Regions from separate parts of the Homo sapiens genome. Here region 2 is linked to region 1. The links are contacts of gene promoters, found by promoter capture Hi-C in human tissues and cell types (Jung and others, 2019). All regions are on one chromosome and are shown on one strand. The core of a region is centred on a gene start or on the middle of the fragment in contact, and the rest is flanking DNA. Distances in the headings are between cores, read along the strand shown. Region 1 holds the start of ANKRD9 (ankyrin repeat domain 9). Region 2 holds the start of KLC1 (kinesin light chain 1).

What was found. Contacts are between HindIII fragments. The study calls those that stand out against the background at their distance.
Region 2: a contact is called between a fragment that was not itself captured here and the fragment with the promoter of ANKRD9 in region 1, in 1 of the 25 tissues and cell types used here (dorsolateral prefrontal cortex).

The regions. Positions count from the first base shown.
Region 1 is chr14:102,505,049-102,512,875 of GRCh38, reverse strand. It overlaps ANKRD9 (ankyrin repeat domain 9), which reads left to right and starts at 3,100. Exons shown (of 4, transcript NM_152326.4): 1 at 3,100-3,347; 2 at 4,030-4,235; 3 at 4,327-4,401; 4 at 4,934-7,827. The coding sequence starts at 4,987. The coding sequence ends at 5,940. LOC105370679 (a long non-coding RNA gene) reads right to left here and starts at 2,833. Exons shown (of 4, transcript XR_007064352.1): 1 at 1,325-2,833; 2 at 62-498. RefSeq lists enhancers at 1,093-1,736, 1,737-2,382, 2,383-3,026 and silencers at 2,507-2,556, 2,717-3,156, 4,151-4,312. The HindIII fragment of the contact is 3,197 bases long and covers 1,113-4,309 here.
Region 2 is chr14:103,627,114-103,634,940 of GRCh38, reverse strand. It overlaps KLC1 (kinesin light chain 1), which reads right to left and starts at 5,730. Exons shown (of 17, transcript NM_001394837.1): 1 at 5,447-5,730. It overlaps LOC105370688 (a long non-coding RNA gene), which reads left to right and starts at 5,798. Exons shown (of 3, transcript XR_944248.2): 1 at 5,798-5,909; 2 at 7,016-7,202; 3 at 7,401-7,439. RefSeq lists silencers at 4,983-5,162, 5,203-5,252, 5,343-5,462, 5,513-5,872, 5,963-6,162 and an enhancer at 6,603-6,692. The HindIII fragment of the contact is 5,866 bases long and covers 164-6,029 here.

The DNA.
Region 1 (7,827 bases), core at 1,851-4,350:
CACCCTCCCCGCAGCCCATCCTCCCTCCCTGAGGAACCTGCCCCTTCACAGCTGTTCACACGTCCCTGGGCAGCCTCTAGTGCAGCAGCGATGCCATGAAACCACCGTGGAGGGCACCATCAGCCTTGGCACTGCTGCCTTAGGAGGTGCAGCATGTCCACACTCATGCCCACAGGGGACAGCTTTCATCAGAAGACACTGCAGCAGAGATGGCGGCTGCAACCCAAAGCAGGGGGTTCCCCTGGGGCTGGATCTAAAAGTGACCTCAGGAGAAAAAGGCAAGAGGCTGAGGTGAGGCAGTGCTGTGGAGCCCCATGGCAGGGAGTGTTACTATGTCTGCTGCCACTTGCACTTACAGTGGGAAAGACGCACGCGGACTCACACTGAGGCTGGCTGGGGAGGGAGGGGACAGGCACGCAGGGCTTCCGATCTGCCGTGTGTTGCTCCTTCAACTGGGTCCCGGGCTCCCAGGCATCATGATGCTCTTTGTATGTGTGTCTAAAATAATTCACTAGTGAAACCACTTCCCAACCCCTCCACTTGGGCCTCAGGGGAAAATCCAGGATCCTTGCCGGGCATTCCAGGCCCCATGGGACCTGGCCAGTCAGGTGGCCTCTGCAGCCTTTGTGTCACACTCCAGACCTTGGCCCCTGCTTTGCCCTCTGCCAGAAATGCCTCTTTCTGCCCATCTGGACTTTGTGGCTATGTCCATGTCCACAGGAAGCTTCTAGGCAGCAGAGAAACAGGGTCAGACTTGGCTTTTAGAAAAAGGTCTCTGGGGCAGGCAGATCACTTGAGGCCAAGAGTTCGAGACCAGCCTGGCCAACATGGCAAAACCCCGTCTCTACTAAAAATACAAAAACTAGCTGTGAGTGCTGGTGCATGCCTGTAATTGCAGCTACTTGGGAGGCTGCAGCATGACAATTGCTTGAACCTGGGAAGTGGAGGTTGCAGGGAGCTGAGATTGCACCACTGCACTCCAGTCTGGGTGACAGAATGAGACTTTGTCTTGGGAAAAAAAAAAACCCTCTGGGATCCCCAGTGAGGAGGGCAGGTCAGGGCACGGGGGCAGGGAAGACATCAAGGGGTGGAGAGAGACCCGCCCTGAGGCCCAGTGCACAGCCTGGCATCCACTGGTGCCCTTTCACCCTCATTCCACCAGTAGCCATGGAGACGGCTGTATCTCAACTCCAGCCTTCGAAGAGGGCAAGAGAGCAGGGGAGCCTTGAGCCACAGACAGCCCACATGGGCACCATCTCCCCAAGATGTCCCCCAGGGTTTGGGCTCCCAAAGGCCGATTGTTGACTCCAGGACCTTCACTCACTTTGCTCTCCCCACCATCGTACTCAGAGGCATCCAGAACCGGCAGATGGGAGAAGCCCTAGGGAGATAGGCCTAGATACAGGAGGAGACATGTGGAGCTGAGGCAAAGGCGGGTGCGGATGCCAGGCCCAGTGCCCTCTATACCCCTACTCCTGCTGACAACCTGGCTGCTGTAAGCTTGGCAGTTGCCATGGACTCCCTGGGAGAGATGGCGTGGCCTGGAACGTCCCCCGCCCTGAGGTGGGGCAGGGCTGGTGGGGTCTGGTCATCCCCCTGGTGGGTCCATGCATGGCAGCCTGGGCAGGATACATGTGAGTGCCTACCTGGGCTGGGGTGGCCTGACCCTCTCTGGGCCTCACAGCTTTGTCTGCCTCATGGTACTGTCCACCTGGCCTCTCAGGACTGCTCTGTGGCGTGTGTGCTTAAGGGATTGAGCTCGTTGGGCTGGGGACAGAGGCCTGCCTAGGTCTGTTGAGAGGGCCCAGGTAAGACTTCCACCCAGACTGACTGGCTGGGGCACACAGAGAAGCCAGGACAGGGCTGATTGTGTGTGCAGGGGCGTGCCCTCTGGACGAGGCCCCTCCCACCGGGGCGAGGCAGAGGCCTTGCTTGGTTGGAGCGGAGTGGGGGAGTGGGAGGGTCTCCCTGGTGAGATAGTACTGGAAGGGCAGGGACAGCATTCTAGGGAAGGAACCAGAAAGAGCCCCTGCATGGAATGTGGGGATTTCACCATGAGACCCCGGCTGCCTGGCCTCTGAGAACGTGTGTGGGGGGATTCCAGGTGGAAGGTCGTGTCTGGGAGGATGGGTGGGGGGTTGAGCAGTCATTGCCCCTCTCCAGATCTGCGTCCACATCTGTAAAATGGGCCTAGAATTCCCAGCCGCTGGGGGCGAGTGAGGCCATAAATTAGTTGAGATGGACCCAGGCTCCTAAGCCCCCTAGGTCATGACCCCAAACCTTGGAACCCCCGACGGAGACGGTGGGGGTGGCCGAGGCCCAATCGAATCTATCCCGCCCAGATGTGGGAAGAACCGCAGGGCAAACCCCCGGCTTCCCTCCTGGCCGCTCCTCTCTTTGAGGCCACCTCTCTGAGCCCTGATTTGCTGGCGGGTGAACTGGGGATCATCGTGTCCACTGTGGCTGGTGGTCGTGAAACGAAGTGGAAACATGAGTGTTGAGGCCGAGATGGGCGCAGTGCGCGCTCCTAAACAGCTGTCCCCATCCGTCCGCCCCTCCCTCCCTTGCGCGGGTCAGCTGGAGCGGGGGCGCGCCAGGCACGACCCTGGCCGGGCAGAAGGCGGTGGAGCCCTTAGGGGTCGCGGCTCCTACCCCCGGCCCTCCCATGTGCAGATGGGGTAGCAGCCTGGAGGTTTTTCCCAAGGTCACGTAAGGTCAAAGAAAAGGGGAGCTGGACGCGACGAGGAAAGTCACGCACGGCGGAGGGCGGGCCACCTACGCGCGCGCCCGAGTTCGCAGAGCAGCGGCGCCCTCCCGGGCTAGGGCAGCTCGGAGCTCGGAGCCTTTCTTCGCCCGCAGCTCGGGTTCCGGGAGCCCCGCCCCCGCCCATCAACGCCCCGCCCCTTTCGCCACGGCCCCGCCCCTCCTCTCCGTTCTCCCCGCCGGCGCTCCCTCAAGTTTCTCCGAAGTTTTCCGCGGGTCCAGCGGTGCGCCCCGCCCGCCGGCCAGTGACGTAACAATGGTGCAGCGCGGCGGCCAATGGGTGGTGGCGGGGGCCGGCGGCGCGGGCCAATGGCGGCGGCGGACGGTCCCGCTGTCCTGCCTGGCCGGGGCCGCACTGCGCCGCCCGCCGCCCGCCGCCCGCCGCCCGCCGCCGGCGACGGCACCGCCGCCCTGCGATCCGGCCGCGGCGGCTCAGAGCGCGGCTGCGGCGGGCGCGGGCGGCGGTGGCTCCCTCCCGTGCGTCCGTCGTGGGACCTTTGCCCGCTCGCCCGCGGGGGACAGCGCGCGCTCCGGTCCGCGGCAGGGGCGGGGACGCCCGGCCTGTGGCCCCCGCGCCCCCCATGGTGAGTCCCCGTCCCCCGCGCCGCGCCCGCGGCCGCCGCCCCCTCCTCCTCCGGCACACGCGCACGCAGGTGCAGCCCTCGCTGCGCCGGCCACCTGCGCGCGGACGCCCCGCTCGGCCCCGCGACCCTCCGCCGCCCGACGTCTGGCCGTGCAGGCCGGGAGGGGACGGGTAGGAGGTGGCGGGTGGCCCCGGGCGCGGCGCTGCCTTCGATGGCCCAACCCCCTTATTCACGAGCCGCGGCCGTGACTCTGCCCGGTGACGTGGGGAGGCCGAACTTTACGTAACCCGCCCGGCGCCCCACGCGTGCCGGCACAGGGCATATCTGGGGCCCGGAGGCCCAGGCTTGGGGAAGGGGCTCCAGTCACGGTGTTGCCCACGGGCCACAGCCTACCCGCACCGCGCCGCTCTCTTTAACTCAGTTACTGCCAGTGATAGTGACCCAGTCAGTGTGTGTGGACGCGGCCTGCCTTCTGTCCCAGGCCCCTTGTGACCAAGGGCTTACCCTTGAAAGAAGGCAGTAGGGAGGTTGGGACGGAGCCAGAGGTCAGACGCCTAGGCTCAGGTCGGGGCTGGGGACTCAGAGGGCAGGGTCAGGGCCTAAGCTCGATTGCCTGTGGGTTGGGGGTCCCCACCAATTCTGGAATGAGCCCAAACTGAGACGCAGGGGACCTGAGTTCTAGGCCTGGCTCTGCCGTGGCTTGCTGACCTTGGAGAATTGGAGAAGCTTGTGCCCTGCTGGAAAGTGGGATGGCAGTACCCGCTTCATCTAGTAGTCGGGGAGATCAAGAGAGGTATGGGACCTGAAGAGGATGGCAGACTGTGCAGTGCGGTGCACACCGGTCTCCAGGTTGTTTTCACCCTCCTATCTCCTCCCAGGAGCTAACGTGTAAGCAAACATGTTTGGATAGAGGGCTGGTGCCACGCCCCAGGCTCACCCCGCCCGCACAGCCGTCGTCCACCCCTCCCCTTTCTTACAGATAAAGCTGAGGCTCGGCCAGGGACTGTGATATACCCACATCCCCGGAACTAGGTGATCGCGGTGCAGGAACCAGGTAGGTCTGAGTCTGGATCATGCCTCTGAACAGCCCAGGAAGAGGCTCCAGGGGCCTCCAAGTGGTCTGGGGTCGGAGATCAGGGTCAGGGTTGCGCTTGGGCTGGAGAGTGGATTTGCCTCAGCTTGAGATGTGGGCCCAAGCTTTCTCATCCCCTCCCTGGCCTTTTCTTTATTTGGGGTCGTATGAACCTGGCTTAGGTGGGAACAGAAGCTCTTCCAGTGGGTCCCTGGGTTGGAGAGGGGAGGGGAGATTTGAGGGCATGGGCAGCAAGGGCATTTCCAGCAGAGGTGCCAGAGAGCAAGTCAGTTTCAAGGAGGGAGAACAGGTACAGCTAGATCAAGGATGGAGGCGGTGGTTCTGGGCGTCGGAGAGATGGAGCTGTAGGGTGACTGGAAGGGCCTGGCCGAGGCTGGAGGTAGGTACAGGCCTGGTGGGCCAGGACCGGAGGGGCTGTGTGAGGGGCAGAGGGGAGTCCCCGGGCCTCCCCAGTTTCCCCGCGCCTCACCGTGGCCTCTTCCTTTCCCCGCAGGTGTGCCTTCGCGGGATCCATGCCTTGAGGCCCAGGAACGCCCCGCCGCCAGCATGCCGTGGGACGCGCGGCGGCCTGGGGGTGGCGCGGACGGCGGGCCCGAGGCCTCGGGCGCGGCGCGCTCGCGAGCGCAGAAGCAGTGCCGCAAGTCGTCGTTCGCCTTCTACCAGGCGGTGCGCGACCTGCTACCCGTGTGGCTGCTGGAGGATATGCGCGCCAGCGAGGCCTTCCACTGGGACGAGCGCGGGCGCGCCGCCGCCTACTCGCCCTCTGAGGCGCTGCTCTACGCGCTCGTGCACGACCACCAAGCGTACGCGCATTACCTGCTGGCCACGTTCCCGCGGCGCGCGCTCGCACCGCCCAGTGCCGGCTTCCGCTGCTGCGCGGCTCCCGGGCCGCACGTGGCGCTGGCAGTGCGCTACAACCGCGTGGGCATTCTGCGCCGCATCCTGCGCACCTTGCGCGACTTCCCGGCCGAGGAGCGGGCGCGCGTGCTGGACCGGCGTGGCTGCAGCCGCGTGGAGGGCGGTGGCACGTCGCTGCACGTGGCCTGTGAGCTGGCGCGCCCCGAGTGCCTCTTCCTGCTGCTGGGCCACGGCGCCTCGCCCGGTCTGCGGGACGGCGGCGGCCTCACGCCTCTCGAGCTGCTGCTGCGCCAGCTGGGCCGCGACGCCGGGGCCACTCCCTCCGCCGCCGGAGCCCCCGCCTCAGCTCCCGGGGAGCCGCGCCAGCGCCGCCTGCTGCTGCTGGACCTCCTGGCGCTGTACACCCCCGTGGGTGCCGCCGGCTCGGCCCGCCAGGAGCTGCTGGGCGACCGGCCGCGCTGGCAGCGGCTGCTGGGTGAGGACAAGTTCCAGTGGCTGGCGGGCCTGGCGCCGCCCTCGCTCTTCGCGCGCGCCATGCAGGTGCTGGTCACCGCCATCTCTCCAGGCCGCTTCCCCGAGGCCCTGGACGAGCTGCCGCTGCCCCCATTCCTGCAGCCGTTGGACCTCACTGGCAAAGGCTAGGCCCGGAGCACCCTAGGCGCTGGATTTTGGGACAAAACTATTTTTCAGAGCGTTGTACCGGCACTTTATATATATTGATCTCTGTACGGCACAATCTCTGCCTCATCTGTCGCATGCACTGGGGGCTGGGCTTGGATGGTCAGGTGAGTTCCAAGTGGCAGGTTTTCTGGGTGCAGCTGGGCTCGGGCCTTCAGCTCGCTGTCCAGCCCCTGAAGGGAGTGAGGACTAACCTCCCACCTTGATCTAGAGCCTCGGACAGGTGTGCGTCCCAGATGGGTGACAGCTGAGTGCCGCAGGAGCTCGGTAGGTGCAGGGGTGGGGACTGGCATGTCCAAGCAGCAGGACAGCGTATAAAAAGGCCTGGAAGCCAAGAGAACGAGCTCTGCAGCGTAGGGTTCTCACGGGAGGTCCTGTGCGGTCAGCCTTTTGCACCCTGTGGACTCCGGGCCAGGGAGGGCACACAGGGCTGGCAGGCCCGCGGTGGCTGGTGTTGAGGCATGAACAAATTGTACCGGGTATCCCCCACCCCACTCTGACCACCAGTTCCTCCTTGGATATCACTCCCCCTGACAGGCAGCCCACCCAGGCCTGGATTTGTCCCTGTCTCCCCCTTTTGCTTTTCCCCCATGACTAATGGGCACCAGGTCTTGCTGCTCCTGCTTCTCACCTCTGCAGTGGCAGCAGGCCCCTGGCCCCAGGTGCATGCCGGTCAGTGGGGTTGGATGTGCCTTCCTCCAGGCCTGCCCTCTGTCCAAGCCCGGAGTGGGCTTGGTGGGCTCCCTGGTGGCCCCCAGTGGGTGCCAGGTGGTGCCCGGGGTTATTGAGGGGTGGTTGTATCACTGTAGGGACAGGCTTCTTGCCCCAGCCTGGAGAGCTGTTTTCTTCAGGAAGGTTCTGGAGATGGAGACTTGTTTGCGAATTCACCACAACTCCAGGCTGGGAGGCTGGGTCTCCGCTCTCAGAGCCGAGACACCAGGGAGGATAGCCAGGCTGCCCTGCCTGGGAATTCTGCTGGGCCGTCAAATTCAACCCGCACCAACGTGGGCAGGAGGGCCACAGTGTCCTGCCAGGAGCAGAGGGCTGAAGGTCTGCAGGAGGAAGAACCACTATCCTGGTGGGGGGCACCTGCTGCCCACCCTGCCCCCAGCGTGCCTGGGGGGAGCACACCTGGGCATGGAGGAGTCCAGGGTGCTGGGCCACACAAGAGAGGTGGGGGAGAGGCCTGGACAGTAGGAAGATCTTGCCCAGGGTCCTGGATCCGCCACTCTGGGGGTGACCTTGGACAAACCTCTGCCTTGGCCCTCAGTCTCCCCATCAAGGTTTTTCCATTCAGGAGGTTTTGGGCCATCTTCAGCCACCCTACCAGCCCTGAAAAGGATGTGACTCCTGTTTCTGGGAAGTGTGTGGTGTGTTAGGTGGGCCTACAGCCCTGGTTGTGGGGAGGGAAGGATGGAGAGACAGCACAGTGACAGAGCCCAGACTGCAGGCTGGAGTGAGGGTTCCACTTCCCCGCTGCTGTGTGTCCTGGACCAGTGCCTCTGAACCTTGGCACTTGGGGCAGTGGATATTAACATCTTTCCAAGCCCAATTCTTGGGGCATCAGGGCCTCCGGTCCTCTGGGAGGTGGCAGGTCCTCAGATTGGAGATGCCATGGGGGGGGGAGGTGCCTCTCCTTTGGAGGGTATGGAAGTGGAGACAGGAGTGGCCTGGCGCAGCTGCCGTGGTTCTTAGGGGCTGGGCCCGGGGAGCCCATGGGGCTTGTGCCTAGAAAGCCTGGGCTCCTCACTGGGGTCTAGATGTGCAGACTTCATGTCTCCCCAGCTCCAGCTCTGTTCTCTATAGGTCAGCCTCCACAATGCCAGAGGCCCAGGGCTAGCCCCCTCCACG
Region 2 (7,827 bases), core at 1,847-4,346, 1.1 Mb before region 1:
AAGATCATCTCGAAATAGCCTCCATCCTTAAGAGGTAATATTCTCAGGAAACAGGCAACAGGCCGGGTGCAGTGGCTCAAACCTGTAATCCCGACACTTTGGGAGGCCACGGCAGGCAGATGGCTTGAGCCCAGGAATTCGAGACCAGCCTGGGAAACACAGTGAGACCCCCGTCTCTACATAAACTATATTTAAAAAAAAAAAAGTTAAAGGTCATTAGTAACCTCCTAGAAGCAAAATCCATAGAGACTTCTCAGTCCAACCCATCACTGACTTCTTAGCCAATTTGCTACTGATCTCCTCCCTCCTCTTCTCTTGGTTTCCCAGGACCCTCTCCTCTTAGACCCACTCCCCATCTCTACCAGATGGACATCACACCCGACTGGCTCAACGATATGATGCAGTCTCTGGAATCTTTACCTCCAGCCTCAGCCTCTGTCTTGAGCTCCAAAGATGTATCTCTAACTGCCCACTAGTCCACTTGGCTGCCCCACAAGCACTTCAGATTTAACATGTCCAAAAACAAACTCATAATCTCATCCTTCTCCCATTTTCCCTCCTTGGATGAGTGTCACCAGCCAGTGAATCACCCAAATTAGAGATGAGGATCATTCTAGATGCATTCCTTCAACAAACATTTACTAAGTTCCTATTACACGCCAAGCACCGACACTGAATACAAGAGACAAAACTCCCCATCCTTGTGGAGGTTATGAATGTTAAGTGGAGACAAACAATAAAAATTTTAAAATGATTAAAATAATACAGTATTGGCCAGGCACGGTGGCTCAGGCCTGTAATCCCAGCACTTTGGGAGGCTGAGGCAGGTGGATCACTTAAGGTCAAGAGTTCGAGACCAGCCTGGCCAACATGGTGAAATCCTGTCTCTACTAAAAATACAAAAATTAGCTAGGTGTGGTGGCACATGCCTGTAGTCCCAACTACTTGGGAGGCTGAGGCAGGAGAATGGCTTGAACCCGGGAGGCAGAGGATGCAGTGAGCTGAGATCATGCCACTGCACTCCATCCTGGGTGACAGAGCGAGACTCCGTCTCAAAAAGTAATAATAAAAAAAAAATAATAATAATACAGCATTTAAGATAGTGAGGTGTGCTAAGGAGAAAAATCAGGGCAGAGGCTAAGGAGTATGTGGGGAAGTGAAGAAATGCTAATCACTACAAGAATGGGTTTGGTTCAGAACTCCAGATGCACCTGGAAGTGCTTGAGTAGGGCCAGAGCAGGAAGATGAAAAGAGACAGGGTGGGGTGCTCAGAGGACACTGACAAAAGCTTTAACAGAGGAGTGACTCAGGTTTTCACAGGATCATTCTGGGGAGTCCTCCCTGCAGCTCCTCATTTACCCCAATCCAGTCAGCCCCAAATCAGCTCCACTATAACCCTTACAGCCCAGCCCCTGCCCCCACCTAGCTTCTCTGTTCCTTCTGTCACTGCCCTAATCCTGAGGCTTGCCGAGTTGGGGTTAATGGCTTCCTAATTAACCTCATCCCAGTTCACAGCACCTGCCCCACCACTGCCTATGCTCTTTCTAAAGTGGCAACTGGCTCCTCAGAATCTTCCAACCCTCCGGCCAGGCGCGGTGGCTCACGCCTGTAATCCCAGCACTTTGAGAGGCCAAGGCGGGCGGATCACGAGGTCAGGAGATGGAGACCATCCTGGCTAACGTGGTGAAACCCCGACTCTACTAAAAATACAAAAAATTAGCCGGATGTGGTGGCACGCACCTGTAGTCCCAGCTACTCGGGAGGCTGAGGCAGGAGAATCACTTGAACCTGGGAGGTAGAGGCTGCAGTGAGCAGAGGTCGTGCCACTGCGTTCCAGCCTGGGTGACAGAGCAAGACTCCATCTCAAAAAAAAAAAAAATCTTCCAACCCTCCTTTGTAAACCTCAGAATGAAAGCAGACTTCTAAGAAGTCATTCAAGGCCTTTCCTAACCTCGTCTTTCCACACTCACTCCCATGTCCCCTTCCCAACATGCCCCTTTACAGCAGCACAACCTCAGGATTTATTTCCTCCAAGCAGGAACCCCAATCCCAATCCCACCCCTGACCCCCTGACACTGGCTGATTGGTACTTTTCTTTTGTGAAGAATCGCCTCCTCAGTGCACTCCACAGCCTTTAACCTGGTCTGTGGTACCTGCCCATGCCAGCCTGTGAGCTCCTAGAGGACAGAGTTTTTTTGTTTTTTGGTTTTATTTTTTTTGAGGCAGAGTTTTGCTCTTGTTGCCCAGGCTGGAGTGCAATGGCGTGATCTCGGCTCACTGCAACCTCTGCCTCCCCAGTTCAAGCGATTCTCCAGCCTCAGCCTTCTGAGTAGCTGCGATTAGAGGCACCCGCCACCACACCCGGTTTTGGTTTTTTTTGTATTTTTAGTAGAGACAGGGTTTCACCATGTTGTCCAGGCGGGTCTCAAACTCCTGACCTCAGGTGATCGGTCCATCTTGGCCTCCCAAAGTGCTGGGATTACAGGAGTGAGCCACTGCACGGCTGACAGCGGCTCTTTTTGTTTGTTTTGAGACGGAGTCTGGCTGGACTGCAGTGACGTGATCTCGGCTCACTACAACCTCCACTTCCCGGTTCAAGCGATTCTCCTTCCTCAGCCTCATGAGTAGCTGGAATTACAGGTGTGCACCACCACACCTGGCTAATTTTTGTATTTTTGGTAGGGACGGGGTTTCACCATGTTGGCCAGGCTGGTCTTAAACTCCTGACCTCAGGTGATCCACCTGCCTCGGCCTCCCAAAGAGCTAGGGGCGATCTGCAGCCTCAGCCTCCCAAAGAGTTAAGATTACAGGCATGACCACGCCCGGCCAACAGTGGCTCTTTTATCAAGGTATCGCTGACTACTCAGCACAGTACCTGCCATTCAGTTGGTTCCCAACAGACATTTAAGACCAGTATTTGCAATCTTAATGTGCTTGTCACTTTTATTCTATGCCCTGAAATTTGACACTTAAATCTTCCCAAATACTCTCGTCTTGAGTATATTACTGATCATTTCTTTGCTACATAAAATACTGGTTTCAGCCCAGGTGCAATGGCTCACACCTGTAACCCTAGCACTTTGGGAGGCTGAGGCGGGTGGATCGCCTGAGGTCAGCAGTTTGAGACCAGCCTGGCCAACATGGTGAAGCCCCGTCTCTACTAAAAATACAAAAAATCAGCCTGGTGTGGTAGTGGGCACCTGTAATCCCAGCTACTAGGGAGGCTGAGGCAGGAGAATCACTGGAACCTGGGAGGCGGAGGTTGCAGTGAGCGGGGATCACACCACTGCACTCTAGCCTGAGCCACACAGTGAGACTCATCTCTAAATAAATAAAAATAAAATACTGGTTTCTAACATTCCACTTATCTACAAAGAATGTTTTCAGGTGATACTAATCATACATTTCACTCAACTTTTGATTTTTCTATCCTAGGTTTCTTTTTATACAAGTATGTTTTAAGATAATTTATGGCCCTATACAGAAAGTTACACATTGACTTTTTTCCAACATTGAGAAACATGCCTAAGAATGTATAAATTTTAAAAATGTATAAATTTGGGCCAGGTGCGGTGGCTCACGCCTGTAATCCCAGCACTTTGGGAGGCCGAGGTGGGCGGATCACGAGGTCAGGAGATCAAGACCAACCTGGCTAACATGTTGAAACCCCATCTCTACTAAAAATACAAAAAATTAACCGGGCGTGGTGGCGGGCGCCTGTGGTCCCAGCTACTCAGTAGGTTGAGGCAGGAGAATGGCGTGAACCCGGGAGGCGGAGCTTGCAGTGAGCCGAGATCGCGCCACTACACTCCAGCCCGGGCGACAGAGCGAGACTCCATCTCAAAAAAAAAAAAAATGTGTAAGTTTAAACGACTGCAGTTATTTGCTATGAAATACTGAAGATACTGTGTGCCTCTCCCCAGTGTCATTCCCTCCCCCCTTGCTGGAGATAAACGCTGTCCAGAGTCCTGTGCATGTCTGGATGCTTTTCTCTAAGACAATGCCAAGGCTGCAGTAGGGTTAGAGGTTACCACCTGGGTCCTCCACAGCACTCAGTGCCAGACAGGGCTGCCAGGCTCAACTGCAACATGATGCTGCATTCTTTGATGACTTGGAGAGACACTGGCTCTTTAGAGTGCCTACCCTCCCACACAGAATTCCATACAAGTTGAAATATACTTCATACTTAGTATCATTGTATTCCTACAAATATTTAGGAAACAGAGCAATAGGTCAAATTTCTCACCATAACAGGCTTGCTGACAATCCCTGAAAGAAGCAAGGCCATGTCTGTAATATAACTTCAGGAGGTTCTTCCAGTTTTCTAAAGTGTCTTTCACTAAACTAGTGCAATGTATTCCGAGCTGATTCTGATCAATGGCTTAGTCATGCCGTACCAAAAAAAAAGGCCTTGGGATTTAACTAATGCAAAGAATCAAAGCTCTAACTGCCCTTTTACAGAACACCTGAAATAGTATATCTCAAATTTTTTGTTCTCACATTTTTAAAAAACATCATTTTTGTAAGTATTCCTTTTCAAACGCTTAATATGTAAATTCTTAATTCATTTAAATAATAAAACAGTAACAGGCAGCAACAATTCTAATACAAATATACCTAGAAATGACCTACAAATGTTAAGTTATAAAACCATCCACTCCATCACGCATTAATTTCACTACTTTTACGCTTTATTTTAATTTTCTTAAGGAAAAGGGTACACCCAATTTTACATGGAAAAAGCATTCCAGGACGGAGGCTGCTTCAAGTTTAGTTGGAGCAACGCCAGCCTAGGTGAACAGGGTCGCCTGAAACGTTTCGCATCTGGTTACTGAAAATAAGGGGTCGCCAAGGAGGCAAAGCGGAGCCAGCTCTCGGGAGGGACCCGGCCCCCCGCCGCCCGCGAGAATGACAGGCGCGTCCGCTCAGGGCGGTGCCGGGAGAGGCGGGGGTGGAAGGAAGAGGAGGAATCGGACAAAGCCAGCCCCGCCGGGCCTCCGGCCTCCCCGCCCGCCGCGATCCCGGGGTCAGCCACCTCCCCTGTCGCGGGTTCCCGGGGTCCACAGCTGTCCCCGGGAACGGCCGCCGCCGCCCGCAGCAGGGCCAAGCCGGGGATGCGGGGCCAGGGCGGGGCCCTGGGCAGGGCCGGGGACCGGAACCTGCAGTGGGACGCGGATGGGGAGGACGCGCGGCGCCGGGAGCCGGGGCTGGCAAAAGGGCCGGGGACAAGAACCCGACCTGAACCTGGAAGGGGTCGCGGACCGGCCGGGGCGGTGAACTGGGGCGGGTACCGGGGTGGGAACGGAGAGGGGCCGGGACCCAAACCGGGAAGGAGGCCTGGATGGGGACAGAGTTACGGCCGGGGCGGGTCCGAAGAGGAGCGGGACAGGGACGGGGCGGAGGATGAGGAGGGGGCCGCGGTCCGGGGCGCACGCCGGGGACTCACCGCCTTGCTCCTGAGGGCCGCGCTCTCTCGCGCTGTCAGCACCTGGAGCGCCGCCGGGCGCGCGCGCGGAGCAGCGACTGTGCGCCGAGCCCGCCTCGGCTGTGTGAGGCACGGCGCAGCAGTCACCAGCTAGGGGCGCCGGAGCTACCGCCCCGCAGCATCCTCGGCCACCCACGCGCTGTCCCCTTGGCCGCCGAGCACAGCCCCGCGGCTCCTCGCACCAGCAGCCCAGCCGACCCAGCCAGTCCCGCTCGGCCGCCTGCGCCGCTCCCGCCGCCGAAAATGGCGTCTCAGTGTTGCTCCCCCCGGCGCCCCGCCTCGCCCCGCCCCACAATGCCGCGCGCCGGCATGACGTCATCGCCCCTCGCCCCGCCCGGGGCTGGGGAAACTGAGGCTGGGTGGCTCCCCGCAAGCGCTCGGCGAGCTGGGGACTGGAGGGGCGAGAAAGTTGTTTGGGTATCAGGTGGGCGGTCACAGGGAGGAGGGTGACGGTGCAGGACCCAGCGGGCCTCCCGGTTGTAACGCGGACGGGGGTGGGGCGCTCGGGGCAGGGCGCGGCTCGCGGGGTGGGCGGCCAGGCCCTGGCCTCTCCGACTCCGCAGCCGCGATGACCGAGCGCTTCGGCAGCTTCCCTTCCAGCCGGACTGTGGGCCCTACCAGAATGCGGCCGGGGACGGTGCAGGCCCGGCCGCAGCCGCCACCACTGGGCTCCCGCCCCACCCCACTCCCAGGCCCGCGAGCTTCATGCGCTCGTTTCGGTCCCCCCAAAACCCAGCTAGGAGGCCTTCGGGAGGCCCCGGAATCAGATGATCCCGGCCAGGCCTTTCTCCCTCCTCCAGGAAAACCGACAGCCTTTGGTCGAGACCCTGACCTCTAACCCTGCGCCCTCCCCTTCTCATTATTCCCTCTCCTCGGGGCTTTTGGACCCTCGTATCTGTACGAGGAAACTTTCCAGGCGCTCCCCCTCGACACAAACTGCGCCTCAGACGGGCAAAGGGGAAGGGCCGGGGTGTAGACTGTGAGGGTGGGAGACAACCCCCCTCTGTCCCCACGCAGCCACCGGCGCATCTCCCTGGCTGCAGGGCCTCGACCTCCAGCCCGGCCTGAAGGGCAGCGGAGCGCGCCTGGGTCAAGTCCTGCGGCTTCGCCGGCTCCGCAGGCCTGACTCAGCAGCCAGCCGGGAGGGCATGCTGATTCAATGGGCGAGGCTCCGCTCGCTGCTGCCAGCGGCTTGGGAAAAACCCTCCCAGTGCCTGCAGACGTCCCAAGTGCGGGGCCCGGAGGCATCATTTAACCTGGAGGGGTTCCTGGGCCAGTCCCCCAGCCCCATCTTGTGAACTGCTGTTCCTTTCCGATGTTATCACCCAGCACCAGCAGCCCTTTGTGAACCCTGCAGTTAGGCCCCGCAGTCACCAGAGAAGCAAGTGCTCCTCGGTTTTTCCAGGGAGGTCTGGTTACTTTTATCTCATTTATAAAGACAAAGGGGGAGCTCCTAGGTAACACGGTAGGGTTGGCCCGGGGAGAGGCACTGAGTCAGGGTCAAACAAACTTTCTCCATACCACTTTCAGGTTAGTGATTTCAGCCAGACTGCAGCTTGGATGTCACTAAGTTCAGCCACTGGGCTGGGCACCGCCAAGCATCGACTGCTCATTCTTTCTGTGCCGCTGCGCCCAGTAACTGTCCCCTCTGCTCACCCACAACCCTAGCCAGAAACCTGGGATGCCTGCACCGCTCCCTTACGCCCTACTACAACAGGTGGAAAAGATTCTACTTCCTCAATATTTCTTTGAGTTAGGGTATCTTTGTCACCCTGACTGGAGGGCAGTGGCAATCAGCTCACCGTAACCTCGAACTCCTGGGCTCAAGAGATCCTCTTGCCTCAGCCTCCCAAGTAGCTAGGGACTACAGGTGTGCACCACCACTCCCAGCTAATGTTTTTTAAATTTTTTGCAGAGAGGAGATCTTGCTATGTTGCCCAGACTGATCTCGAACTCCTGGCCACAAGTGATCCTCCCAGCTGGCCTCCCAAAGTGCTGAGATTACAGGTGTGAGCCACCATGCCCGGCCTCTCAGTATTTCTTGAATCCATCTCCACTGCCACCACTTTGTTCTGGCTTTATTACCTTGTTCTTTTATTTCCTCAATAAATATTTGTTGCTCTCCCATGATCCTCATAACAGCCAAGGATGCATAGGTGAACAAGATAGATAAGATCTCTGCTTTCTAAGAGTTTACATTCCAGTGAGGAGAAGTAGGCCATAAACACATAAGGAAATACCGGATCTTGCCGAGATGATGGAACAGGCAGAGATGGAACAAAGATGATGGAACAGGCAGAGTCTAGGTGGTCAGGGGTGAACTCAGAGGCAGGCGGGTGACC